Regions from separate parts of the Homo sapiens genome. Here regions 1 and 3 are each linked to region 2. The links are contacts of gene promoters, found by promoter capture Hi-C in human tissues and cell types (Jung and others, 2019). All regions are on one chromosome and are shown on one strand. The core of a region is centred on a gene start or on the middle of the fragment in contact, and the rest is flanking DNA. Distances in the headings are between cores, read along the strand shown.

Region 1 (4,031 bases), core at 698-3,197, 240 kb before region 2:
TGCACTCAGCCTTTCCTCCCCTTTGCTAGCCAAGCTGTCACTCTGCCTCCACCAGCCTCTGCTCAAGCACTTTCCCCTTACGTATCTAAGTAAGAAGTTGGGAAATTAATGTTTCTGTTTTCTTCTTTTCCTAATGATACTGTAGCATGAAGATCATCTAATTCCAAAGAAAACTTCTGAATTTCGTGATGGTTCTTCTCCACTGTTGGGCAAACTTCACGGTCTTGTCATCATCTTGGCATTTAATCACGTCGGCCTCACTGTCCCGCAAGGTGATTCCAGTCTCTGCCTTGCCTTTCATTGGCTGTGGTCTCTGGCAGCCTTCACAGTGGGGTGAGTTTGAACGTGGTGGTCTGCCACTGTCTAGACAGGGAGGCGGTTCAGCACAGTGGCTCAAAATGCGTCTCCAAGCCCTATGTGCATGTTGGACACTACGTCGACCTCTTGCCAGAGGGTCATTAGCTCTGTGAACTTGGGCAGGTAACTCAACTTTCATGTTTCCTGGTCTGTAACATGAAGGGTCTTTACAGTGTCTAACTCACTGCAGGAACTGCCACGCTAATGTACTGTGGCACTTACCACATGTGGACATCATTCAGGGTCTGGACTATGAGGTTCACCTGGGCAGGACCTTGCCTTCCCTGCCTTGTCACCGCCGTGTCACTGGGCCCAGCACCCTGGCTGGTGGTTAAAGTCATGTATGAATGGAAGCAGGCCGGAGGATCAGGACAGAGGATGCTTTATGTTACCCCGCGTGCCCTGGGAGATGCCAGCACCAACTCTCAGGTCTTCTCCGTATGACCACTCTCCTCCCTGTGGCTGGCTGGGCTCCTCACCCTTGTGCCCATACTAGAACATAGACACCCTCCCTTTCCAACCTCCTCCTTTTGGTCCAGGCACATTCTTCATAGTCAGAGACTTCTCACATTTCTTCTCAACTTGGATGCCCTCATACTTTTCTCTTGCCTCATACGGAAAAAAACGCGCCTTGTTCTGCCTAAACTCCACCCCCGTCCCCTGTCCAGGCTCACAAAGTACTTAACTTTCCTTTCACCTTTTCTATACCCCTCGGCCTCTCTCCAGGAAAGGCAATCTGTGATCTGCCTGCCTTTGCTTACATTTTTTGGGAACCACGTCAGCCTTTCCAATGAAAGCTCAGTGCATTGTTATAATCTGATATTAATAACACTGGGCTACCAGTCTTGGAGGGAAGCATTTTCCCATTTAAAAACATGTCTTAGCTGCTGCCTTTCCTGATGTACTGGAGTGCAGGTTCTTGTCCCAGGCAGCCTGGGTTTGAATCCACCTCTTCTACTTCCTAGCTGGGTAACCATGGGTAAGTTACTTAACCTCTCTGTGCCTCATCTGTACAATGGGGATAATAAAAGCTTCAACATCTCACAGAGTTGTCCTGAGGATTAAATGACACGATGCTTGCAAAAAGCTTAGCGCTTTGAAAGTACTAATGTTTCTGATACATATGTTTGTTATCATCCCACTTACAAGTGGCCATCCTTTCCATGTTTTCTTGTTTCTGCCTTTCGCTTGGCCGAGTCGCCTGGAAATCCCAAGGAGGAGTTGTCTGGGGTAGAGCTCCCTTCCCGCTCCTGCCCTGGTCTTGTCCACATTCCTCCTCCCCATCCCGCCATTGCTGCCCTGGTGTCTCTTAGCTGCCCTGCTGTCTCTTAGGTGCTAGACACACTGGGTGACTGGGAGTTAGGAAACACCTGCTCCAGCATCAATGGGAGGTGAGGCAATTCCATTAAAATGCACACTTCTTGTTTCTGTACCTCCAACAACTACTACTTTCAGTTTCTCCACAAACACTTACTGCTTGTTTCCCATGGGTCTGGCACAGGGCAGGCGCTGGTGAGGCAGACCCTCTCCTGACCCTTGGCAGTGGGTGGTAGGGGCAGATACATAAACAGGGCCTCAGAGACCAATATGGGAGAGCAATGGCAGGGCCATGTGCAAGGGGCAGGCACGTGACCACCCTGGGCAGAGGAGGGGTAGCAGTGGCCACTGAGGACCCTGAAGGAAGCAGTGCCAAGGCAGATTCAGAGATGAGGAGGGTGGGCCGGACAGGGGAGTGGGGTGGCACATTCCAGGCAGAGGGGACAACTCGAGCTAAAGAATTCTCCGTATGAGGCAAGAGAAAAGTGTGAGGGCATCCAGGTTGGGAAGAAATGAGAGAAGTCTCTGACTATGAAGAATGTGCCCAATCCGAAGGGAGGAGGTTGGAAAGGGAGGGTGTCTGTGTTCTAGTGTGGGCACAAGGGTGAGGAGGCCAGCCAGGCACAAGAAGGAGAGTGGCCATAGGGAGAAGGCCTGAGAGTTGCTGCTGGAATCTCCCGGGGCATGTTGGGTAACGTAAAGCATCCTCAGGCTGGAAACGATCTGAGGTGAGCCAGAATGAAAAGCAGTTGAGCATTATTGGAGAGTAATGGGACGAGTGCAGAATGGCGCGAGGCAGACAGAAGTCGATCAAATACCAGCTTTATTGTGGACGAAAACCTGCTAGAGAACATAGCTTGACCCTCAGCCAATAGCCCCAAAGAAAACTTACCTCCCCACGCTGCAGGCCTCTTCCTTGGGGATGGCACCTTCCTTGGGAGAGAAACCTGCCTCAGTGAGTGCCCTTCCGTCCTTCCCTGTGTGTGGGTAGCACAGAGCTCAATCCTGCCCCCTGCCATCCAGCGTGTGGCTATTTAGACACTGGGAATTCTCGCCTGCTGTTTTCAACCCTGGCTACCAGAATCTTGGCTGCAGCAGCCCACCGCTGTGTAGTAGGCGGATGTGGATAACGCTAGTTGGACTAACTTAAGATTCAGAATGGCATGAAGAAAACCAAAGGATGCATTGAGGTATCTTCAAGGCATCTCAGACTCATGACCCTTCGCTGTGACCAGGTCCCCTTTCCACATGGCCTGTGTCAGTAAATTGGTGCACCAGCCACCCATCTGCACAAGCAAAGAACTTCAGAGCCATCCTTGACATTTCCGCTCCCATCCATCCACTACCAAGGTCTGCCCATCCAGCCCCTAAATGTCTCCCCAGTCCATCTACATCTTCCTGCCAACCCCAAATCCAAGCTGCCATCATCCACCATTTCATTCTTGGACTCCTAAGAAAACCTCCCAACTAGGCTGCCCACCTCCAATCTTGAACTCTCTCAACCCATTCTCCAGCCAAAGCCTGGGGGATTGTTTTCAAAATGGAAATCTGATCACATCTCCATCCACAACCTGTCCCTTCTCTGGCTTCCCACGGTGTTTAGGATAAAGATCTGAATGCTCACCAGGACTGGTGGGCCTTGTGTGATTCTCCCCTCTCCACCTCCCCACAGCCACTGGGTCCCACCCAGCCTTCCCTACCCCTCACGCTCCCCGGACTCTTCCTAGGTCTTTGCACATCTTCTACCTGGGATGTTCTGCGCGCACTTCAGGCCTCTGAAGCATCCTCCAGAACTTAGCTCACATGAAATCCCCTCAGGGCAGCCTTCCCTGCCCTCAAGCCTAGGTAGAGTTCTGGGTTAGAAGTTCTTAGAGCTCCCTATTCCTTTCGAGCCCTTACCACGGTTTGTTGCCCTTTAGTTTCTGCAATCATTCTCTTTTTCACAAGACCACGGGTTCCCTGAGGAGTGTTTTGGCTCACTCTTATCTCTCCATGGCCTATGATAGTAGTGGAAATGCAATATAAATTAATGAATTCTTACATTATTAATTTAGAAGCCATCAGCAGAGTCCTACCAATGGGCTTCTTCGGTGTGGAATTGTATGCCAAATTCCTATAAAAATTTAAAGTTTTTTTTTACTAAAATTTGGGGAGAAACGTCATAATGAGAGGCACGGGGGGCTACATTTTGCATATATTTGCAGAAGTGGAGATATATGTAAAGTGACATTCTCTGGAAAAACTCCCAGACTATTAATATTAACCCAAGGTCAATACTAAAAGCCAGTTCCTCAGGGAGTTGTACTGAACTGTAAAGAAATGCACCAGGGTGTGACATGGCATCAGAGATGCTGAGC
Region 2 (4,207 bases), core at 107-2,606:
ACTTGTTAATGAGTCGTGAATCCCCCACCATGGTCTTCTACCCTTGGTACATTATGCTCCCATTTTACAGACAAAGAAACTGAGACTTAGAAAGACTAAGCTGCTTAGCCAAGGTTGTATCCAAGTGGGTAGATCAGTTTTTTAAAGCCTTCAGACCCAAATTTGCTGAAGTGTTTTCTGTTTTTCTTTGAAACAAATTAAAATTTTAACAATTTTTTACCTGTTGCTACCCTAAAAGAAGTCGACGTCAGGTTTTTCTCTGATTATGTTTCTCATTGCGAGTCTACTGCTGTGATTTCCCCTTAACATTCTTTTTGTGAATGAATTGTAGAAATCAGAAATGGGAAAGGCTTGAGGCTTGTCGGCCATGAAATATACATGTTGAAGAGCAAAGGAGAGAAGTGCTTGGCCGACAAGGCTAAGACCTCACACTTAGGAGTGACCCAAATGTTTCCTGAAGATGGTAGAAGAGTGAAAAATCCCACAGGCTCTGTAAGTGACATCAGAAGAGCAAGAGTTGGGGGAGAGCGTGAAGCTGGAAAGGGAAAGTTTTCAAGTGATGAAGATGAGTAAATGATGCATTCCTGGACTCTTCTCATTTCATAGGCCGGAGGGGCTAAAGGAATTGGATTGGGAGCCAACAAGAATTTGTTTAGAGGTTTCTAGTATAATATAATTACTTCAACACATATGTATTGAGTGCCTTCTATGCTCCAGATCCTGTTCTAGGCACTGGGGATACATCAGTGAATAAAATAGACAAAAATCCCAGCTCCATGGAGCTTATATTCTAGCAAGGGGAGAAAAATAACATAGATAAGAGAATAAGTTCTGTAGTATGTTAGAAAATAGATGTTAAGGAAGAAAGAAAAAGTAGAGCAGGAATGACTGCTTAGTGGACATTCACGAGGTTCCAGTGTGCTGAGCATTTTACATGCATTATTTCATTCAATCTTTGCAAGAGTGTTAGAGGATTCCCATGTCACAGATGAAGAAACTGAGGTTGAGTAAAGTGAAGTGATTTGTCAAAGGTCATGCTTCAGTAATAGTAGAAGCAGGATTGGAACTCCTCAGACTGTTGACCACACCCACGTGGCATGAGAAAGGCACCAGGGGCCACCATCTTCCTTACCCATCTCCCATCCTTGTCTGAAGGTGGGTTGAAGCGTCGCCCTTTGGTCATTCTCTCCAGGAAGCTGAATGTGGCTGAGATTGGCTCCCTCACCTCTCCATAAGCTCTACATGTCTGGGAAGCTGCTTCCTAAACTTCATAAGCTCTACACGTCTGGGAAGCTCCTCCTCCTCCTTGTTCCTGATCTTTACTTCTCAGCCTCTTCCAGGAGGGGAAGGTGCGGGTGCCCATTGTTGTCATGGAATGGGAACTCACCCATCACAATGGGCAAAGGAGTCTTCTAAACCCTCGGAGGATTCTTGCCACTGGTTCCTTGCAGCTGTGACTCCCCAGGGTAAGAGGCAAAGAGCCACCAGGTCCCAGCTGAGGAAGCCCTGTGGTCAGCTCAGACAGGTAAGGACAAGATGATTTGGGGGTAATGGCAAACATTTTGTACCCTCTCAATTTTTGAACCAATAATGTTTGAGTTGCATGTCCCCCTGGCAACTGTATGTTCCAACCTGTTAGTTTTCAGAGAAGTAAGTTGAGTCCCAGGCTGGGGGTGACCTTGTCTGCATCAGTGGCACTGCTGCACCCAGGACCCACGCTGCCTACCATCTCCTTCTGTGGCAGCCTCTGTGTCTCAGCTCGGACCCAACCTCAGGACTCACTCACAGCCACTCTTACCTGCCTGGCACAGCATTGAGACCATGAGGAAGTAACACTCATGAATAATTATTATATGCCAAGTGCTGTGCTAAACTAAACATTCACCTGTTTTTATTTTTTCTCCACGACAACCTTCAACATTTACAAATAGGAAACAAGGGACATACAGCAATGGATGGGATGCCACAAGTCCCAGCAAGGTCATGGGCCAGCTCCAGAGCTCATGAGCCTTGCCAAGGGCCACCTGGCATCCCCAGGGCTGCAAAGGCTGCTCGTGAAATCTGGCGTTTCTCTCGGGGCCTGGACACACACGTCCTGCCTCCCTTCTACTCAGTAAGGTGTTTTCTGCTTTTCTTTCTTTCTTTTTTTTTTTAATGTTGTGTCTTGCCAATTCTCTTGGCTACTCCGTGTGAATACGAGAGTAAACACATGCAGGACAACCTGTCCAGCTGCTCTCTCACTCAGAAATTGTGTCCTCCACCCTTTCCTCCTCCAGTCACCCTCCTAGGTTTTCCAAGGAGAGTTGCTGTAGTAGTGATAGAGGACCTTATCCACTGCCAGCACTGAAGGGCCAGAGGTGGCCCTTAGATGTGACACCGGAGATGCACAGGTCCTCTTGCACTATGATGCCAAAAGCCACATGGTAAGGAGAGGAGGAAAAGGTGGTGGGCCACCTCTTTTGGTGTTGCAGAGCTGCTGTACCAGGCAATACTGTTGTGTGTGGAGTAAACCCTTCCAGGATTTCTGCTACCTGCTGACAAACCCAGTGCAACAGACACTATTTTTCACCTTTACCAGGCATTGCCCACTGCTCTCCAAAGCCCAGGTGTAAAGAAATACTCCCAGCAGCAGCAGTGCAAGGGAGTTCTGTCGTCTCACAGCCTTGCCAAGACGCACTATATTGATTACGAACAAATTTGACTGGGACAGGAAACCCGAACTAACAGGGGCTTAAACATGATAGACATTTATTCTCTCTGCGTAGTGAAGTCCAGAGGGAAGTAGTCCAGGCTCGATATGGTGGCTCTGCTGTTCAGGATTCTCAGAGATGAGGCTCCCTCCCACCTACCACCACTCACCAGCTCCAGGGGGCAGCTGTCATCACTTGGCCCCAGATGGCATCTGCGTTCCAGGCAGCAGAATGCAGAAAGGGAAGTAGAGGGGAAAGGGCGTGTCCCCATGGATCATATTGGGCCAACCCCAGTTGGCTCAGCTGCTTCCTCCTAAGGAAGTTTCCTGGCAGCTGCCATACAACACTTCCTCTCGTGGGCCAGGACTTCAACCACATAGTCAGGCCTCACTGTAAAGGGAGCTGCAAAGTAGGCATTGTCCTGGTGGGATGATTGCCCAGCCGAAAGTTTAATTACCATGGAAGAGACAGAGAAGCAAAATCAAAGGACAGCCTGAAGGTTCTGCCACCCCAGCGGGTGTTCTCTTATCTTTAATTTGATCATTTAATTCCCCAAATTCTAACAAGAATAAGCCTAACTTCATTCCAATTAGCCTGGCCAGGGCAGGGGGAGGGTGCAGAAGACGATGCACAGTGCTGTCTACTTCTCAGCATTGTGCTCACATAGCACCTTATAAATACTCTGCAAACTCTAACGTACTTTGCAAAACTAAGGAAGAACACATGAAAGGCACGTCAATGTTTACTAAGTACTTTTATATTCATTGTTTTATATAACTTTCACGACAACCCTAAGACGTGTGCTGGTTATCTTTCTTTTGTGTGTACCCCTCTCCCAGTCATTCTCCATCTATTCCCTGTTCTGCAGTCTGGAGTCTAAGCTGTAAAGGCTGTATCCCCTATTCCCCTATGCTTTGGCTCTTTTTGCTTTTGAATTTATTATTATTATTTTTTGAGACAGAGTTTCACTCTTGATGCCCAGGCTGGAGTGCAATGACACGGTCTCAGCTCACTGCAACCTCCGCCTCCTGGGTTCAAGCGATTCTCCTGCCTAAGCCTCCCAAGTGGCTGGGATTACAGGCACCAACCACCACACCTGGCTAATTTTTGTATTTTTAGTAGAGACAGGGTTTCACCATGTTGGCCAGGCTGGTCTCGAACTCCTGACCTCAGGTGATGCGCCCCCATCTCGGCTTCCCACAGTGCTGGGATTACAGGCGTGAGCCACTGCGCCCAGCCCATGCTTTGGCTCTGGTTGGATTCATCCCATAGGAAATAGCAGTGGGAATCAGAAGGGCAGAAGGAGATAGACAGTGTTGTGCTCATAAATGGTTCACAACCAGCTCTCCAGAGGAAACGCAGCCTGATTTGTAGTGGCATCTGCCAATTTCCATGCATAAATACTTCCACCATGGTGGATTTCAAGCTACTGACATCACTGAACATGGAATTGGGAAGAGATGTACATAACACATTCTGATACATCACAGGTTCAAAGTACTGGCCCCCCAGGCTCT
Region 3 (4,032 bases), core at 604-3,103, 160 kb before region 2:
TCCGGCAGTGCAGAGGCAGAGGCAGTACCACTGCTGCCCAGTGGGTGGCACACTGCCAGGGGTCCCACAGGCCCCAGGCACACCAGCTGAGAAGACGGAACTGGAGGGAAACTTCTTGTTCCCCTCCAGGGAACTGGAGTCAGAGGCAGTACCATGACTGCCCACTGGGGGCGCACTGCTTGGGGGTCGGGGGCGGGTGTCTCGCAGGCTCCACGTGTTCCAGCTGAGAAGACCGCTTCCTCCTCGGGCCAGGAAGAAGAATCCCTTTCTGCTCCAGTTTCCCTTCCGCGTCTCCAGTGCAAAACTGGCACCGAACTCTATGTTGGCTGCATGACAAATAATTGTTTCCAAAATTACGATTTGTCTGTTGACTCTATACAGAGCCCAATTTGTCTTCTAAAAGTTTGAAAACTGTATCTAGCCATGTATCTCTCTATTATTTTTAAATTTATAACTTCTAGGTTTCTAGTGGTGAAGGCCTCTTGAGCCCCTAGATGGTATGTGTAGACCCATGGGTTTTATGGAAATGTTTCGAGTTTTGGTTTTTTTGCTTTCACGTCTTTAGTCTATCTAGATCATATTTTTTAAGCAATGTGAGATAGAGATCCAATTCTCTTTTCTTTCAGGCAGCCATTGCACTGCCACTGTTTATTAAATAATCCATGTTTTTTCCACTGAGATGAATCTTTGTCATATATTATATTTTTGTATTTGTCAAGATCTATTTTTGAGTTCTCTCTTCGGTTCCACTGATCTGTTTGTCTATTCCTAGCTGATACCACAGTGACTTGATGGCAGGGCTTTATGCACGATCTGTTCTTTTGTAAGGCAAGTGTACTCACTGTTCTTTTCCATAACTTTCTCAGCTGTTCTGGGGGCATTTATTCTTCCATATAAGCTTTAATGTCATTCTATTCAACTAAAAAAAAGCTAATTGAGATTTTAATCAAAATTAGATTCCTTTTCTATATTAATTTGGGAGAATTGACATTTTATGATATTGTCTTCTAATCCAAGAAGAATATTTGTTCAGACCTCCTTTTAGATCATTCAGTAAGTCTTTGGTTTTCTTCTTTTAGATACTGCACTTTTTTGTTGAATTCATTTTTAAGTATCTGTGGCTTCTGTTACTATTGCAAATCAATAATTTTCCAGTTTCTTCTTCCAGGTGCTGTGTTAGTGTCCTGGCAGGAAACACATGGTGCACTCGAGTCGGGTACTGAGGAGAGTTTAAATATCAAGTATTGATTAAGATGTGGGCATGAATAAGGGAAGTCAACAAGGAGAAGAGAAGCACCCCCGGACGCCAACGCAGTGGGGCAAGGTTTTCCAAGGTAGGACCTGGAAAAAACGCTGTCACTGAGGCTATCAATGTAGTAGAGGACATCTGGCGAGGAGCTTAGCCTTTGGTAGAGGAGCCAGCCTTTGCCAATTCTCGGTCCAGCAGAAAGGAAGACACCCCACTGTCATCCTCCTCCTGCCCGTCACACTCCTGACAATGCTTCCCATAAGATGAACCCAGCTGTGAGCCTTGTATTAAGCCACGTTAGGTGTTAAAGCATCAATTCTAGTAACAAAAAACCCAAATCCCTTGGGGCTTCTCAGTATCCAATTGTATCATTTTTTAAAATAGGTAATTCTATCTCTTCTTTTCCAATGTTTATATCTATTATTTCATTTTCCTGTTGTATTAGTTTGCTAGGGTTGCTATAACAAAATATCACAAACCAAGTGGCTTAAACAACAGAAATTTATCATCTTACATTTCTGGGGCTGGAAGTCCAAGGTCCAGGTATCATCAGAGTTGGCTTCTTCTGAGGGCTCTGGGGAAACTTCTGTCCCACGCCTCTCTCCTAGGTTGTGGTGGTTTGCTGGCCATCCATCATCCCGGCAGAGAGCAAGGTGATACTTGGCTGGTAAAAGCATCACCCTGCTCTGTCTTCATGGTGTTCTTCCTGTGTGTGTTTTGTGTCTATTAGAAGGGGCCATTTGCATGTTTTCTTTGGAGAAATGTCTACTTACATCTTTGCTCATTTTTAAATTGGGTTCTTCTTATTATTGTTATTGAATTGTATGAGTTCCTTATGTATTTAGAATATTAATCCCTTATCAGACAGATGGTTTGCAAATATTTTCTCCAAATCTATAGGTTGCCTTTTCGTTTTGCTGATTGCTACTATGCTGTGCCAAAACTTTTTAGTTAGGTGTAGGTCCACTTGTTTATTCTTGCTTTTGTTGCCTGTGCTTTTGGTGTCATAGCCCAAAAATCATTGCCAAGATCCATGTCAAGGAGCTTTACCCTATATTTTCTTCTAGGAGTTTTAAGGTTTCAGGTTTTACCTTTAAATCTTTAATTCCTTTTGAGTTGATTTTTGGGTATGGTGCAATGCAAGGGTCGAATTTCACTATTTTGCATGTGGATACTCAGTTTTCCCAGAACTGTTTATTGAAGAACCAGTCCTCTCCCCATGGTGTGTTCTTGGCACCCTTGTCGAAGATCCGGTGACTGTATATGCATGGGTTTATTTCTGAGCTTTCTATTCTGTGTCATAGGTTTATAGACTGAAGTGTTCTCTTCATTATTGTCTAAGTAGTTTGCTATTCCCCTTATAATTTTCTGTTTGACCCAATGATTAGGTGGAATTGTGGTTCTTAATTAAGATTTTTGGTTGAATTATTTAATTATAATTTAAAATTTGTTGACATAATAATGTGGCCTTTAAGTATAAGCTTTTTTATTTCATTAAGATGTTTTAGTGTGACCAAGTGGGACTTGAGTTATTTTTGTCCATGATTCATGTACACAGGGGGGAAATGTGTACTCTCTATTTGAGATATGTAAAGCTCAATGTATGTCGGTGAAGTCAAGTTTATTGATGGTATTAGTGAATCCCTTTACATCCTTACCTTATACCTAGTAGATCTATCTCCTTTCATGTTGATATTTTTTAAATTAAATTTTACTTGCATTTTAACAGTTTCAGCTTAAGGTATTTAATTGTTACATTGTTGTACACACAGATTTATGACTATTACCTCTTCTACATAAATTTTGCATTTATCATTACACGATGTACCTCATTATTCCATTTAGCTCTATAAACCTAAAATTTCATTTTGTGACATTAATATTGCCATGCCAACTTTCTTTTTATATGCTTTTATCTGTTAGCTCTTTGATTACTCATATTTTCAACCTTTTCATAAAAGTTGTCTTTTATTTCTCATAAACGGCATAGAGCTGGGTTTTGATTTTTTTTTTTTTTTCGCTCTGTCATCCAGGCTGAAGTGCAGTGGCAGGATCTCGTCTCACTGCAAGCTCCACCTCCCAGGTTCACGCCATTTCCTGCCTCAGCCTCCGGAGCAGCTGGGACCACAGATGCCCACCACCATGCCCGGCCAATATTTTCTATTTTTTTTTAGTAGAAATGGGGTTTCATCTTGTTAGCCAGGATGGTCTCGATCTCCTGACCTTGTGATCCACCCGCCTCAGCCACCCAAAGTGCTGGGATTACAGGCGTGAGCCACCGCGCCCGGCCTGGGTTTTGCATTTTAACTTAATCTGATTCTCTGTCTTTTAATCCGTCATTCAACATTTTATATTTAGTGTAAAAACTGATATTCTTGATTCTGATTCTTCTGTATCCATGTTTATTTTTCATTTTTGTTTCCTCTTTTTCCTTTTTCTAATTTTTTTATTTAATGAAGTTGCTATTGCTTCATTTTCCCCTAGATAATGAGGAACTTCTACCAAACATTTCTATTCAATTAATAGTCATTGCCCTTTCCCCAGAACTGTTAATCAGAAACATATTAATATTTCTGAATTATTGTTTGAAATCAAGGTACCAAGACTATGTCCCTAACCAGGATACACTCTTTCCCCTCTTTTACTTTATCTCAGTAAGGTGAAATCATTTTAAAAATGTTCTTGGTTATTCTTGAAATTTTATTTTGTTAAAATTTGGGGTTGATTTATTAAGGGAAAAAATCAACAAACACAAAAACTAAAAAGGAAATTGGGATTGTGGT

What was found. The method cuts DNA at HindIII sites, captures the fragments that hold promoters and counts their contacts. A contact is called where the count stands out against the background at its distance.
Region 1: a contact is called between a fragment that was not itself captured here and the fragment with the promoter of TEX36 in region 2, in 5 of the 25 tissues and cell types used here (H1 embryonic stem cells, heart left ventricle, heart right ventricle and 2 more).
Region 3: a contact is called between a fragment that was not itself captured here and the fragment with the promoter of TEX36 in region 2, in 2 of the 25 tissues and cell types used here (heart left ventricle and mesendoderm cells).

What each region holds. Positions count from the first base shown.
Region 1 is chr10:125,442,310-125,446,340 of GRCh38, forward strand. No RefSeq gene overlaps it. Among named protein-coding and RNA genes, the nearest start is that of TEX36-AS1, 130 kb to the right of the region's middle. The HindIII fragment of the contact is 5,237 bases long and covers 1-4,031 here.
Region 2 is chr10:125,681,807-125,686,013 of GRCh38, forward strand. It overlaps TEX36 (testis expressed 36), which reads right to left and starts at 1,357. Exons shown (of 4, transcript NM_001128202.3): 1 at 1,133-1,357. The coding sequence starts at 1,183. It overlaps LOC283038 (a long non-coding RNA gene), which reads left to right and starts at 1,437. Exons shown (of 5, transcript NR_033848.1): 1 at 1,437-1,525. The HindIII fragment of the contact is 13,590 bases long and covers 1-4,207 here.
Region 3 is chr10:125,522,198-125,526,229 of GRCh38, forward strand. LOC105378544 (a long non-coding RNA gene) reads left to right here. Exons shown (of 3, transcript XR_946438.2): 2 at 1,169-1,334. Among named protein-coding and RNA genes, the nearest start is that of TEX36-AS1, 50 kb to the right of the region's middle. The HindIII fragment of the contact is 3,173 bases long and covers 268-3,440 here.